2 separate regions of the Homo sapiens genome follow, and region 1 is linked to region 2. The links are contacts of gene promoters, found by promoter capture Hi-C in human tissues and cell types (Jung and others, 2019). All regions are on one chromosome and are shown on one strand. The core of a region is centred on a gene start or on the middle of the fragment in contact, and the rest is flanking DNA. Distances in the headings are between cores, read along the strand shown.

Evidence for each region. Contacts are between HindIII fragments. The study calls those that stand out against the background at their distance.
Region 1: a contact is called between a fragment that was not itself captured here and the fragment with the promoter of SHISA4 in region 2, in 2 of the 25 tissues and cell types used here (H1 embryonic stem cells and spleen).

What each region holds. Positions count from the first base shown.
Region 1 is chr1:201,560,779-201,564,735 of GRCh38, reverse strand. All of the region lies in intron 1 of NAV1 (neuron navigator 1), which reads right to left. Among named protein-coding and RNA genes, the nearest start is that of NAV1, 24 kb to the right of the region's middle. The HindIII fragment of the contact is 3,528 bases long and covers 517-3,957 here.
Region 2 is chr1:201,887,269-201,891,393 of GRCh38, reverse strand. It overlaps SHISA4 (shisa family member 4), which reads right to left and starts at 2,496. Exons shown (of 5, transcript NM_198149.3): 1 at 2,327-2,496; 2 at 1,778-1,949; 3 at 807-940. The coding sequence starts at 2,399. RefSeq lists enhancers at 2,359-2,653, 2,494-3,003. The HindIII fragment of the contact is 16,044 bases long and covers 1-4,125 here.

The sequences.
Region 1 (3,957 bases), core at 1,031-3,530, 330 kb after region 2:
TCAGACTTCTGCTGTACAGAACTGTAAGATAAATCTGTGTTAAGACACTAAGCTTGTGGTCATTTGTTACAGCAGCCTAGAAAACCAATCAATTCCTATTTATTTATTTATTTGAGACAGAGTCTCACTCTGTTGCCCATGCTGGAGTACAGTGGCACAATCTTGGCTCACTGCAACCTCTGCCTCCTGGGTTCAAGGGTTCAAGCAATTTTCTTGCCTCAGCCTCCCAAATAGCTGGGACTACAGGTGTGTGTCACCACACCCAGCTAATTTTTGTATTTTTAGTAGAGACGGGGTTTCGCCATGTTGCCCAGGCTGGTCTCGAACACCTGACCTCAAGTGATCTGCCCGCCTCGGCCTCCCAAAGTGCTGGGATTACAGGCGTGAGCTACCGTGCCTGGCCCCATTCCCCTGTAATAGGTAAGGACGCTAAAGGTGAGAAAAGTTAAAGCCACACTGCTACAAAGTGGAGGAGGTGAGACTGAACTATTCCTTTCACACCTACAAACTGACCATCTACAATGAGCCAGACCCTGTGCCAGGGCCGAGGATGCCTGCCTGCCTGCCTGCCTGCCTTCCTTCCTTCCTTTCTTCCTCCCTCCCTCCCTCCTTCTTTCCTTTCTTCTTTCTTTCTTTTTTGAGACACAGTCTTGCTCTGTCACCCAGGCTGGAGTGCAGTGGTGCTAGCATGGCTCACCGCAGCCTCAACCTCTGGGACTCAAGAGATCTTCCCACTCCAGCCTCCTGAGTAGTTAGGGCTACAGGGACACACTACCATGCCTGGCTAATTTTTTAAATTTCTTGTAGAGACGGGGGTCTTGCTATGTTGCCCAGGCTGATCTCAAACTCTTTGGCTGATGTGATTCTCCTGCCTTGGCCTCACAAAGTGTTGGGATTACAAGTGTGAGCCACCACTTCTGGCCAGGAATTTACGGTCCAAAGAGAATCGGATCCCAACCAGATCTGCCTGCCTGCAAAGCTTCTGCTTGTCAGGGCCACAGCATTCTGCCTTCGCAGGTCTTTCACATGTTACCTCATTCTACCCCTACAATAACACACTGAAATAGGGATCCATGCCCTCATTTTGCTGATGAGAAAACTGAGGCTCAGAGAAGTGGGGTGTTAGCCAAAGGGCCCCCAGGTGGTCATATCAGGCCCAGAACTCAAGCTCCTGGCATCCAATTCCAGATTCTGGGTTCTTCCTTACCTCTGATGTGGAGGGATCCTGCAGGCTTTCCTTGCTGTACCTGTGGCACTTGAAGCAGACATGTGGGGTACCCCACCAAGCAGTGTCTTGGGGATTGTGGTCTCGTATGCTTTTCTCTGGGCCCAGTTCCAACATCTCCCAGAAAGATACATCTCCCAGAAAGATACACCAGAAAAAAAATCGTGTTGGGTCAGTGGCACCTGTGGGACGAGTTAACGCCCCCTCTGCCATCCAGGCTGGGTCCCGGCGTCCGGACGCTCTTCGAGGGGCTGTTTCCTGAGGACAAATGTTTCCTGCTGCCGCGGATGCACAGGGGGAGCGTGACCAGGGGCAGCTAGCCCTGAGTCGCACCACCAGCTTGCTAAGCATGTCTGCACCCTCTGACGATCCGGTCACCTCTTCATTAGTCTGTAGCTTCCCCCACACATCCTCTCTTAGGACTTGACAAAAGGCCAGGATATTTCAATTGGGAGGCTCAGGCCACTCTAAATACTCATAACCACCCACTCTGGCAAAAACTATTTACTATGCGTGTTCCTGTGCATTACCTCACTGATTCACCCACCGTCCTAGGCTGTTATCATCCCTACTTTTCAGAAAAGGAAACTGATGCTCAGACAGATCCCGTGATCCAACAGCATCCAGGATCTGGACTGAGGTATTGGACTTCTGGTGACTCACTGGTTCCCTACTGACAGGCTCTGTAGGCAGGGCCTGCCCCACCCCTCCCTGCCTGCTCCCTTCCATCCACCAGGCCCAGGAGAGAGCACCAACCGCCTAGAAGTACCCTGCAAGCTAAAACAGAAAGAGATGCCACATTCTGCTCTCATACAGTCCTAGAATGACCTGCTTAATATTATATCTTAAGCTCCACTCAGAAGGAAGCTTGGAGCTTTCAGAAAGCAGTTTCAAAAGTGATCAGTCCTGCCGGGATCCTTTCAGACCATACAGTGTCCAAGGCAAAGGACCACTGCCCACCTGGGCCTGGCCCACTAACCCTGTCCTGCCCAGGGCTCAGGAGGCCCAGCTGCTGAGGGGTTGCTGTGATGGAGGAGTGAGTCATGGGGCCTGGAATCTGAAGCCTTCCAGACCTTCGCCCATCCCAGCCAACTTCACATCTGCCATCCAGATGTCTCCACTTCGGAAATGCTTTCTACCAACTAGGACCCAAGGTCGGGGGGCATACTTGACCTTAGAAAAATACCTTCAGGTTGGGTTTGGTGGCTCATGCCTGTAATTCCAGCACTTTTGGGGCTGAAAGGCCAGAGGATCACTTGAGCCCAGGAGTTCGAGACCAGCCTAGGCAACATAGTGAGACTTCCCAACCCAGCTGTCTCTACAAAAAAAAAAAAAAAAATTAGCCAGGCAAGGTGGTGTGTGCCTGTAGTCTCAGCTACTTAGGAGGCTAAGGTGGGAGAACCGCCTGAGCCCAGGAGTTCAAGGCTGCAGTGAGCTATGATGGTGCCGCTGCACTCCAGCCTGGGTGACAGAGCAAGACCTTGTCTCTAAAAAAACCGAAAAATAAATAGGAATAAATAAATAAAAAATACCTTCAGAACCTCCTTGGTCTCCTTGGTTGATTCTCAAACCTAAACCTAACTGGGTGCCTTTGTTCCAACCATTGATAGTCTCATGCTGTGACCAAGCTTACTGCCTAAGGGCCCTGAACATGGGGGATCTGATGGAGGAACAGAGCCCCAGCCTGCAGGGAGTTCCCAGGCTGATGGGCAAGGCACAGTTCCTAATCTCATGGAGGCCCCAGGCTGAGTAGGGAACACAGCCAAACACAGCCTTGTCCTTAACCAGATCCTACACTAATGGAAGAGACAGAACCCTGCCCCCAGGAAGCCTACTGCCTAATAGGGAAAAACTTCTGTATCTGTGGGGAGCTTCCAATGTCCAGAAAAAAAGGACTCAGAAGAAAAATCTAGAAACATGGATAATGGAAGTGAAGGAAACTAACTTTTATTGAATGTCTAGCATATGCCAGCTACTATACAGATTTAATCTTCTTTAATTCTCACAATTACCTCATTTACAGTCAAGGAAACTAAAGCACCCTGGTTAGTTACCCAGCTAGTAAGTAAGTAAGTAACAGAATCAGGATTTGAACTCAGATCTGTGCAGCTCCCACATCCTGTTTTTGCGTAACACCATGTGTGATGGGGCAGATTCGTTTACCTTCTTTTCCCACATCACCCTTTAGGCTGGGAGCTAGTTCTTGTTTCCTGTTGCAAATCACCATTCTCACAACACTAAAAATTACTACACTTAGGACTACTTCATTGACTGACAATATCCCACTGTCCCAGCAGCAAGAGGGACTGCCGACTCTGTCCCTTTAAAATGAAGAGAAGGACTCACAAAGGAGCTCCCATCCTCCACTAGCAAGGGGTCCCACCCACCACAGAGGCAAGCTGTGGTCAAGGCAGGGGCTTCTTGGGGTCTCATGGAGAAAAGGTTCAGAAATCAAAGCCCCACCCCAGGTTGGTCCCAAGCCAGTCACTGGATGAACACACTCCCTGGTACCTGTGGAAAGAGTAGCGACTGCTGCACGCCACTGGAAAGCCTGTGGTGGTGGCAAATGCAACGGAAATGCTGACTATGTTCCCTGAGCCCACTGTCTGCTTTGTGGCACCCAGGGCTGGCCTGGAATAGCAGCCTGGCCTTCCCGTCATTGTGCTGGAGCTCTGGGAGGTCTCGGCTCATGGCAAGGATCCACAGATCCCAAAGCCTTCTGTGGCTCCTCA
Region 2 (4,125 bases), core at 1,247-3,746:
GGGGAGAAGGATCAGCATTCAGAGACCCATCTCCTATGGGAAGCCTCCTCCTCCTGCCCAGGAAACCAAGGTAAGCACCCTGGTGCTGGCCTCTGGCAAGCTCCAGGCTGGCCATCTTTGCCTCCCACACCCTGCTTGGCAGAGTTAAGCAGGGAGCTGTGCACGTGGCCCCAGCTGGTCAATCTGTGTTGAGCAAGTTTGCTCCCCTCAGCAGGTTTCAGAGACCTCATGAACCAGGGAGCACAGCCCAGGGAATATCTCACTTGGGCAAGAAGGGGACAGCTCAGGGCTGGTATCCTGTAATCCAGCAGAGCTGCCACTAAGAGGGTCTTCTCCTAGCCCTTCCCTCCCACACTGATCTCCCGTATGGCATCACTGTCCCCATGTCCATCAGGTTGTGGCATATGTGCATCACATGCCAACACTCAGGCACATATTTTGCCATCCACTGGAGCACACTCAATTAATGTTCATCACTACAGACCTGACCCCGTGTACTTACTAAGAGTCATATGTATGCATACACCCACTGCACCCACTATTGTTGACAGACTGCACTCCTGTACACATTTGAATCTTCATGTGTATGCACAGAAATGCACACAAAGTCTGATGTTCCATATATCCCAGGCACATTCTAATATTCACGGGTTTACAAGCATTTTTCTGGGTTTTCATGCTGGCAGGTGTGTGTATACAGAAGCACATACTACTACAGAATTTACCCAATCCATGAACTCTCTGCTGCCCATTATTGGACTTAGCCCAGCCCATCTGAGGCCCTTCTTGCCCAGTACTGGGTGTACCTTCAAATGGGCTCTGGAGCTGCTGGCGCCGGCGGTACAGGTAGCAACAGGAACAGAGGAAGCAGCAGATGGTGGTGGCAACCACAGCAACAAAGAGGATCACAGCTGAGGCGATGCCTGCTATGGTCTTGGGGCTTTAGACAAAGAACAGGTCCTCTCACCTTCCAACACTCATAGGACGGAGTCCTCATTATGCTGGCTCCAACTCCTGGCCAGCAGGGGGGCCATGGCATGCTGAGATTTGGGGTTCCTTGTGGGGCTCTGCCCAGTCCCTGTGAAGGAGATCTTAGAGGACCTCCACTTCCCAGAAGGCTATGCTGCCTGGCTGGCTAGTGTGAAGCATACGGGGATTTGCAGTGCGCCCCCAACCATTGCTTTTATATCTACAACTTAAATGATTAGACATACAGCATAACACTGAAAGGAGCCTTAGAAATAATCTAGAGCCATTTTTTCCAAACCCCGCTTCAATCAGAAGTCTCTATATCTATTTTATATATGATATATTAAAAAAAAGTTTGACAACCACTAATTTGGCAAGCAATGACCCATAGAAGGCAAGTGTCTTCTCCAAGATCACACAGCTAGTAAGAAGTGGACCTGGGAATCAAACCCAAGTCTCCTGCCTTTGTGCCAGAGCTTCTTCCACAAAGCTACACTGTCGTCCGGGTGTTAACCTTGAACCCTCCCTCCCCATGACCTGGCAGGACCAAAGGGAGGGCTCCAGAAAGAACCTGGAAACCCCGGGCCCAGTCAAAGCCTATGAAGGTAACTAACATGCCTTTTCTGGAACTCCCAGGCACCAGCACCTAAGCACCTAGCTCTGCCGCCAGGCTTGAGTCCTGGTGACTCTATTCAGCTAAGAATGTGGAGGTCGACAACGGAGGAGGCAGGAGTCCGGGAGGGAGGAAGAGGAGGCCTCTGGAGAAAAGGATAGAGGAGGTGGTGAGGGTGAGGAGGCAGGAACCCACCTGAAGGCCAGGCAGTGCTTCTGCTGCCTCTCGGTGATAAGCAAGGTCAGGTCCCTGCAGCAGTACCGATGGTAGCAGGTCCCGCAGCAGAAGGTGAAGAACTCGCAGTTAAACCCCGGATGCCAGGAGCCATTCCGGTCCAGGTACCACAGGCAGTCCTCGCCGGCCAGCACTGCGGGCAGGGATTGGGGGTGCCCAGTGGCCACCAGGCCAGTTCATCCCCAGCCGCGCTCGGCCCCACTCCCCCGGCGGTCCCCAGCCTGACGGCTCCCGAACACTGAGGGTTGCCCCTTGTCTCCACCCTGAGGGTCTCAGCCCCAGAGCCCCCGAGGCCTCTGCCTGAAGCTGACCCTGCACCCCGGGATCAGCCTCCCATGGCCCAGCATCCTGGAGCTCCCTCTTCCCGCTTCTTGAGGACCCAGCAACACCCAAGGCTCCCGTGGCAGCCGGAGGGTCTCGGAGAAGCCCCGAGCCCAAGCCCCTCGGATCGGTCCCTCCCCTTCCTCCGCCCCCATCCCACTCCTGCCGCATCTCTCCCCATCCCCTTACCCAGGGGAGCCCCCAGCACCAACAGAGCGATTGCGGTGAGCGGCGCGGCCCGGCGGAGCCCCGCGGGTGGCATGGTGGGGGCTGGGCGCGGCCGGGGTCGGGCCTCCCAGAGAAGGGACCGCAGGACCAAGCCGGCCAGCTGGAGCTGCGGCGGGGCCCAGCCCGCGGCCAGGCTCGGGCTCCTCTTCCGCCTCCTCTGGGGGTGGGACTAAGCGCCCCGCCCGCGCTAACCCAGCCGGCGCGGCTCCGCGCAGCGCCCAGGAGTCCACCCACCAGCGACGCCCACCTAGCCTCTGGAGCTGGGTGCCCCTCACCCAGCAGAGCACTGCCCTGCTCCCCCTGTCCCCGGCTCCGCGGTGGTTCCTCCCATCCGAGCCACCATGGGCACTGCGGGCAGTTGGGCACTGCGGCCAGGGAAGCCTGGCTGTGTCCTGGACCCGCCCCCGGCCTGGGCCCAATCACTATGCTGGACTCCAGAAGCCCTGATCCTGGTGCCACCTCCGAATGCCCAGACACATGGGCCAACCCTGGAGGAGCAGGGCTGGACCTTCACTTGTGGGGGACCTCCTCTGCCGCGTCCAGCCTGGGACATCCTGTCGGGGGCGGAGAGGGAAAGAGGCTGGATGTCACCCCGCCCCCATTCCCAGAACACAAGCACTCATTGAGAGGCATTCAGAGTGGCTTTGTCCCCAGCGGTGCCCACAGGCCTGAACCCTGCCAGCTGCACTGGCTCCCTACGATGGACCCTTCCCCCTTCAAGTGGACAGAGCTGGCATGCACCAGCCCATGGCCTCACTAGCAGGGAAGGCAGGCTGCTGGGGCCACCTGGGGCCCATCCAGTTAAACACTCTTCACAGTGAAAGCCCTTCACAGAGCAAGCCTGTACTGCAATAGCCACCGGAGCATAGGGAGGGCAACAGTTAATTTCAGGTGGGCAACAGTTAATTCCAGGTGGAGACAGTGTTTTAGGATGGGAGAGGTCAGTCTTCACAGGTTTATACTGAGTGCCAGTGACTATGCCCCATGCTACATGAGGTACCCTCCGAGGAACTGCAAATTAAGCCAGGGAGATCATCAAAAGCCTACCTTAATCCCCTGCCATGTACACCCTTTCACACACTTCTGGGCTTCCACATCTACCTCACTGGAATCTTTCCACAACTCCATGAACTAAGCAAGGTTCATCAGTGTTATCAATCGCATTTCACAGACTGAGAAACTAGGACTCATGGAGGTTAAAGAACTTGTTCAAGGTAATACAGCCAGTAAATGGTAGAGGCATCAGGAAGACCCAAATCTAAATCAGGGTTGATCCCCAGCCGCAACAGCAGACAGTGTAGACAGTGAGTATTTCTTGTGTTCTGGGGTGAGAGAATCAGGACAGGTCCATGGAAGGCCCAGTAGAATCTTAGTAGGTTAGGGAAGGACAGCCGAAAGAGGAGCTACCCCATCCTGGGCCCCTGTGGGTGCTGGCACACCTACCCAAGAGAGCTGGAATAGGAGAGGATAGGCTCCTGCCCCAGAAAGTTGCTGGTAGCCTGATGGGCAAGAGTATGTCCTCACGCAGGACACAGTCATAAATGCAGCAGCAGGGACAAAGAGAAACGCCTCTGAATCCAGCACCACCTACTCAGTGTGCCCATTGCCATCCATCTCCTCTTTCCTACACTAAAAGCTCCATGACTGCAGGGACCACGTGGCTGTGTTCAATGTGGCCATCCAGCCCTAGCCATCAGTGTTGTCATTGTTGGTTGAATCATCTTCAGATAAGGGACTGTCTTTCCTGCCCAGAGCTGAAT